2 separate regions of the Homo sapiens genome follow, and region 1 is linked to region 2. Evidence: promoter capture Hi-C in 16 types of primary human blood cells and fetal thymus (Javierre and others, 2016). All regions are on one chromosome and are shown on one strand. The core of a region is centred on a gene start or on the middle of the fragment in contact, and the rest is flanking DNA. Distances in the headings are between cores, read along the strand shown.

Region 1 (3,742 bases), core at 361-2,860, 3.2 Mb before region 2:
TTATGTGAACCAAAGCACTTTTCTTTGGATCGTGTGTAGGTAGGATTTAAGTTAATCAGAATTTTGGCACAGCAAGCATCAAATGTCCTTCACATTTAGACCTGTACACAGCCTTGTAAGTGTTTGACTTACGGATTAAATAAACTGTATTTTAGCAATACTTTTCAGTTGTCTCAGATACTAATTCTTTAAACCACTTTTACAGGGTCACAAAGTAATATTAATTTGGTCTTCACTTTTGTTTTCAAACCTTGCTTGGAATTGGTGTCAAGATAAAGTGGTATGTAGTGACAACATTAGGGAGACATGGGAAAGGACTTATGTGATTAAACTGGATTTAATCCTGAGTAACCAGGCATGCTTAAGTAAAACCAGTTCACTAAGTAGGCTGTAAACTTTTAACCCCACCAAAAAAATGATCTTTAAATGAGGTGTGATCTCAGCATATGTCTTACTCGATGAGCTTTTGATTTTTCATAACATTTCATGCAACAAAGAATTAAAGCTTTCATATCTAGGTACAGATTTGTGAAAGGGGACTGGAATAGCCCTCTTGTAGATACTTTTCAGTTACTTTGAAATAGTAAGTTCAGCTCTTAAGAGTAGCACACTCTCGTGGTTTTGTTTGTTTTGGTTGGACTTTAACTCATTTTGATGTAGATACCTTTAAACTATGAATATTTGGGCTGGGCACGATGGCTCACACCTGTAATCTCAGCACTTTGGGAGGCGGAGGCAGAAGAATCCCTTGAACCCGGGAGGCGAAGGTTGCAGTGAGCCGAGATCGTGCCATTGCACTCTAGCCTGGGCAACAAGAGCCAAACTTCGTCTGAAAAAAAAAAAACAAAAAACCAACAACAAAACAAAAAACTATGAATATTTGAAGTGGCCAGAGTTGGGAGTGAAAATAAAAAATATATTATTGTATTTTCATGCTGTAGTTTGATGATAATGCCAACACCCAAGGTATAGCAGAGGCTAACAAAGTGGAGGTGGGGCAGTAGAAACAGTTCTTTCCACTCCCCACCCAAGGCAATAAGGGAATCCATTTCTATGGAGAATTGAAAAACAATAATAAAATGTAGTATGTCTGCTTTCTGTTATTGCCATATGCCAGAATTCTAAACAGTGTCAGTGATAGAAATTCTAAACAATATTAGTGATGAAATACGCCCTGTCTCACTGCCCAAATATACCACTGCTGTATTTGGAAGATGGAGTTTGACTAACACCATATATGAATCTATTCCTGTATAGTGTAGCAGGATTCTGTTGTATCCAGATGACCACTATATTAAATTCTGTTCTTTCAGTATATATTTGTAAAATTAACTAAAGAATTTAACAGTTGTTAAATTAGTTTTGATGAGGAAATTGGCAATATGGTTTTCAGTGATGACACATTCTGCTTGAATATAGAACACAGTCATATATGTATATGCATATGCATGTCTCAGATAAGATCTTGAAATCTTTTTTTTTTTGAGACAGAGTCTCGTTCTGTCGCCCAGGCTGGAGTGCAGTGGTGCAGTCTTGGCTCACTGCAGCCTCTGCCTCCTGGATTCAAGTGATTCTTCTGCCTCAGCCTCCCTAGTAGCTGGGACTACAGGCACGCACCACCAGGCCCGGCTAATTTTTATATTTCCAGTAGAGAAAGGGTTTCACCATATTGGACGGGCTGGTCTCGAACTCCTGACCTCGTGACCCGCCCACCTCACCTTCCCAAGTGCTGGGATTACAGGCGTGAGCCACCGTGCCCGGCCAAGATCTTGAAATCTTTAAAGAGCAAATTAAATGGTAAAAGAAATTAACTTAGCAAAAATTTCATGTTACGTACAATTCTCAGATGTCTTTGCTTTTGCATTATTTGATACATAATTTAATCTATCTGCCTTTGTGTTACTTGGTACAAATCAGTGCTGAATCCCCTCTTTTGGCTGTTATTATGTATCAGGTGTTGTAAACTAATGTTTACCATAATTTGGATAATAAACCTACCATTTGGGGAGATAGTGAAGAAAAAAGAGATACATTTTCTGGAATGGAGTATTGGTAATTATTTGTTTTAACTATTCTCAGTTTTGCAGATAATTGGGTTAATGTCATTTTAAAAATTGTGCTTGTTTTTTACTGGATCGGCATATAATTTTGAATTATTGCTAATATCACACTAATTCCTTTTTGTTAAATGTGTCTTCATAGATTACACACACTCCGCCTGCAGGAATACTTATCAGGGCTTTAATGGTAAGTATCCTCTTTCAGCTTTTCTCTTCATGCGCATAAAAATATAGTATCAATGTAAAAGGCCAGTTCTACCTATTTCAGTCCTTGTTTTGGTTCTTGATATATCATTTATGTGTTAATATTGTCTTACTATATATAGTATTTGAATTGGGGAATGTGCTATCAGAAAATGTTAGGGGTTATTCACATTAGTTTGATTTTTTTTTTGGTCCATTTTGTTTGAATTATGATTATTTTAATGTGTTCCAAAGGGCCTAACTACATTCTGAGTGATGAATCACAAGACACTGGCTGAGTTATTTTGGTTGAATTAGAGGCTTTGGTATTGAGTAATGTAGACTAAGTGGATTATTGGCTTGGTTCTATATAGCTTGTATTGTAATGCATTTTGACCTTGTTTTTGAGGTCATTTTCTTCAGTGTGTCCAAATGTGTTAGTATATAAAGAGCTGTCTAGAGGAGCACATGAAGAAGCTTGATTGTTTATTGACATGAGCATGACATTAGACTTGTGACTATAGAACTAGATAGAATCATGAGAGGTATGTAGAATACAATTGGATGTCATTTTGATAGTTATTAGAGTTAGGGCCCTGCCACACAAGATAATAATACAAAAAAAGAACACAGAACAATTAATGCAGGTTAAAAAACATATGAAGGACTTGAGGCATTAAATATCATGATTGCCAGAGAAATGTAAAATCCAACTTTCGTACAGAATAGAATATATTCACAAAGTAAAACTGAAGCAAATGTATACTAAAGACTATGCCATTTATGGGAATAATTACTGAACAGTTAATTTTTATTTCATTATCTTTAAAGATTAAGATAAACTTTGGATTTCATGTGGGCTAAAAAGGCTTAACATATAGGGAGTTAGTACTGAAGAATGTATTTGTGAGCTGGAAATTGAAAATTACCAAAGGAAGTTTAATTTGCATCCACATGTAAGTTATATTGAAAACTGGAAAATTAACGAGAAAGCCATTTCATAAGTTTTGATATAAAGATTTTAAGGCCTTGAACTTGGGAGGTGATAGTAGTAGTAATCTTAAAAATAAAGAGCAAATTAGCAGAACTTGCAGGCTGACTAGTAATGGGTAGAAAATTGAGAGGGTTGAATAAAAATGAATCCAGGATTTTAAACTGGAATGTATGACTAGTGCTTTTACAAGGGAGAGGGGGAGGGGAAGAGGGAGGGGGAGAGGGAGAGAGTTTGTAATGATAAAAGGCCATCTAGGATTTACTGGATAGTTGGATTTAATGTCTAAACATAGGACTTGAAATGCAGACTCATGCAGGGCCAGATGTTTATTTATTAATTAGTATACAGTGTTGCAAAAAGATCTAATATGACTTTTATTTTTTCTCTTAATTTTAGTTATAACTGGTTCTCATCTGAGGGTGATTGTTGGAATCTCTTGGGGAGCTTTTTCAAAGTCTCTCTTTTCACACATAGCCTATACCTCTTGAATCTTAATTTCAGGGCA
Region 2 (3,673 bases), core at 1,102-3,601:
TTTGCTCTCCTTAAATCCATTTTCCACACTGCATCCAGTGATCTGCTTAAATCTTAAATGGACTTGTACAAAATTAAGGAAAACCTACTCAGCACGGCAAACAAGGCTATGATTCATGCTTAATGACCCCAGCCTTCTGGCCTCTCCGATGTCCTTTTCTGCTACTCCCACCCTAGACTTTATATGTCTTAAAGTCTAATACAAACTCAGTACTTGTAGTGTCCACTACACACTAACCATCCCCACTTACACTATGTATTTTAAGAACTATGGATCTTTTTGTTCGCTTTTCTGAAATGCCCCTTGTTCCTGGCATTTTCGTCTCAATTAAGCATCTTTCTGGATTAAATTTTATTTTCTCCAGGAATCCTCTTCTGAAACCCTTAGAAGTGACCCTCCTCTACTGGTACTTAGCCATCCTTTATTGAAATTACCTGTTTATGAGCCAGTAACCTTTATTAAGCTCTTTGAGAAGAGGGATTCTTTCTTTCTCTTTTACCTACATCCCGCACAACCCAGCTCCCCCTCCGTCTCCCCCACCTCCATGCACAATTCCTGGCACGTGTTAACTGTTCAGTAAATGTTGAACTTTTGAACTTTACTGGAAATCAAGAAACACTGAGTTTTAGCCTCAGTTTTGCTCACTATGTGATTTTAGATATTTTATTCTCTGTGCTTATCGTGTGTATCTATATACAACTTAATCCTAAAGTTCCATCGTATAAAAAATTCTACAACTTTTTATTTTGCTCTGTATGTGACAGTACCTGGTATTTAAAAACAATTCTCTACATCAACTTAAAAAATTAACATTTGATGATTATAATTAACTTCTAAAAAACTGAAAGATGAAACACATCAATGCCTTTTCTTTCCCCCCTGTACTGCTACCTGAAAACATCGGAATTTGCTGTGGAACGAACAAGATTTCTTCTAAGAAATTACCCCCTACCACCATGACTACATAAAATAAGGTAATTCCCAGCAAGAATATTATGCAGATACTAAAAAGAAAACATGCTAGGCATGGTGGCTCACGCCTGTAATCCCAGCACTTTGGGAGGCCGAGGCGGGTGGATCGCCTGAGGTCGGGAGTTCGAGACCAGCCTGGCCAACATGGTGAAACCCCGTCTCTACTAAAAATACAAAAATTAGCTGGGCATGGTGGCGCACGTCTGTAATCTCAGCTACTCGGAAGGCTGAGGCAGGAGAATCGCTTGAACCCGGGAGGCGGAGGTTGCAATGAGCCGAGATAGCGCCACTGCACTCCAACTCTAGCTTGAGCAACAAAGCGAGACTCCGTCTCAAAAAAAAAAAAAAAAAACAATGACACGAGGGAAATGCTTACAATGCTCAATGAAAAAATGAAAAGAAAGGTTATAAAGTTTTAATATACGATTTGATCTTTTGAAAATAATGGATATATAACTTAAACGGAAATGTATCATTAAATATAGCAACAGCGTCTTCCAAAAAATTTCAAAATCGGGCTTAATGCCAATTACACGATCATAATCCAAAAACCCTTAACTGAAGCAAAGACAGTGATTTGTAACATCTGAACTGTGTGAAAGGGGTGGGGGTGATTCAAACAAGTGTCATCACCTTGTCCAATGATGAAGGAGAACGTGTATCAGTTCTGCATTGTGAAATTCTCAGTATGAGAGCGTGTAGTGGCTAAGAAAAGCAGTGGGCGAATTAGGAAACAAAGAGAAAAGCCAGCGACATCACCAGTTCTGGCCTCCTTCCCACCGGAGGAAAGGGGAGAAGGCGGGTAGTCATCAATTCCAGGTCCAGCCTAAGTTCTGGGTCCCCGGCCCCAGCGAGAGCCTCGCCTCGCCTCGCGCGCCTGCGCGGAGCGGGCTGGCTTCCTGAACGGCCCTCGCCTCTTCACCACCAGGGCCGTCCACCAGAAGTTTCTAAACGGGTGAGAGGCGACAACGCAGTGCAGCTGGGTTAAAGGAAGGAGGCTGGTTTATCCTCCGCACTTACTTGGTACTCGATCTCCAGCGAGGCCTTCAGGGGCATGGGCTGGTAGAAGCACTCCTTCTGGCCGGCGGGAAGGGTAAAGGTGAAGTCGCTATCGAGGGAAGGTGTGAAGCCGGCCGCCCCAGGCAGCAGCACCGGAGGCAGAGCGGCCAGAAGGAGCACGGGGAAGGGCAGCCAGATCTTGTCGCCCATCCCTGCTGGGGCGATCCCGGGCTGAAAGAGGCGTCAGGTACTGTTGTCTCCGCTCCGCGTTTCCTCTCTGGACTCCTCGTGGTTGACAGGGAAATCTGGAGTCTGAAGAAACTCCAGGTGGCGGCCGCGGCGGCGGCGAACACTCCCTCCGAAAGAGAAGCGCAGTTCTCCAAAGGGTAGGGACTCTGGGCGGGGCTAGCAGTCCTATTCCGCAACCGCCTCAGTCTCGGCCCCCTCAGGCCAGGCGTGAGCGCCGCCCGCCTCTCCCCCTGACGGCCTCCGGTTCCCATGGCTTCCCCCACCAATGGGCATCATGGCGGTAATTGTGGGAAATGTAGTCCCGGGCGGGCTCCGCTAGTGGGCTCGGGCGCGCTCGCCGACCACGATCCCCGGCAAGCCCCGCGCCTTCGGCGGCGCCTCACGCAGTCTGCGCCGGGGCGGGGCAGTGACCGGGTAGGCGCGTCCCAACGGCTCCCGCGGCGGTTCGAATTCTGTGCTGCCGGGGTTCGCTGGTTCTCCGAGTTGTGTCCGAGGCTTCCACGCGCAGGGGCCCGGGAAAGGGTCAGAGGCTTCCTAACGCAGACTCGAGTGCGAAGCGCGCAGTCGCCGGGTGGGTCTCTCCCCAGCGACGATTTGGGTGGTGAGCGACTGCGCCTTGGCGTGGGGAAACCGGCTTACCTGGGGGAGTTCTGTTCCTTTCCCTCCCGGCACCTTGGATGCGCTGGGACTGGTCCTCGTGGTTGCTGAGCATGCTGCTCTGAACGGTTGTATTTTATTTGATGAAAAATAGGAGGCCGGGCGCAGTGGCTTACGCCTGTTACCTCAGCACTTTGGGATGTCGAGGCGGAAGGATTGCTTGAGCCCAGGAGTTCGAGGCCAGCCTTGGCAATATGGCGAGCCACTGTCTCTATAAAATTAAAAAAAAAAAAAAAAAGAGGAAACTGTCACTTCCGTCCCCCACCCCCGCCCCCGCTTCTTTCAGACGGATGTAAGATTAGCTGTGTCAAGCGATCTTGAGACAGGAGACTACTACATAAAGTTATGACTTCTTTCCAAAATGAGGAATCTTTTTCGACTACAGCCCATTGTATCACATACATAGGGTATAAAAGAACACTTGTCCTTCGTTTGATGGGTGTGCGTGTGCAAACCTACAAACACATTGTTAATTAGGGCCGAAAGATGATGTTGTTAAGGTCGGTGAGTAGGATGATGTGCTTTTCTAGGTATGCATAGTCAGTGAAGATAGCCTTTTTTGGGTAACTACTGTAAATTGAAGTTAAGGACATTCATTTGACAGTAAATGTCCCACTAGGAAAATGAAAACATTTTAGTATCAAATATATTCATTGCTACTGCAGAAGAGTTAGGGAGTTCTTTCTTTTTTTTTTGAGACCGAGTCTCACTCTGTCGCCCAGGCTGGAGTGCAGTGGCGCGATCTCGGCTCACTGCAACCTCCGCCTCCCAGGTTCAAGCAATTCTCTGCCTCAGC

What was found. Contacts are between HindIII fragments. The CHiCAGO score rates a contact against its expected background, and 5 or more counts as called.
Region 1: a contact is called between a fragment that was not itself captured here and the fragment with the promoter of TMED5 in region 2, in 1 of 17 cell types (activated CD4 T cells). The highest score is 5.3, in activated CD4 T cells.

The regions. Positions count from the first base shown.
Region 1 is chr1:89,995,908-89,999,649 of GRCh38, forward strand. ZNF326 (zinc finger protein 326) reads left to right here. Exons shown (of 12, transcript NM_182976.4): 2 at 2,203-2,247. Among named protein-coding and RNA genes, the nearest start is that of ZNF326, 2.7 kb to the left of the region's middle. The HindIII fragment of the contact is 2,215 bases long and covers 504-2,718 here.
Region 2 is chr1:93,178,062-93,181,734 of GRCh38, forward strand. It overlaps TMED5 (transmembrane p24 trafficking protein 5), which reads right to left and starts at 2,352. Exons shown (of 4, transcript NM_016040.5): 1 at 1,993-2,352. The coding sequence starts at 2,181. It overlaps CCDC18 (coiled-coil domain containing 18), which reads left to right and starts at 2,663. Exons shown (of 29, transcript NM_001378204.1): 1 at 2,663-2,791. RefSeq lists enhancers at 1,733-1,882, 2,753-2,962 and a silencer at 2,413-2,692. The HindIII fragment of the contact is 9,002 bases long and covers 1-3,673 here.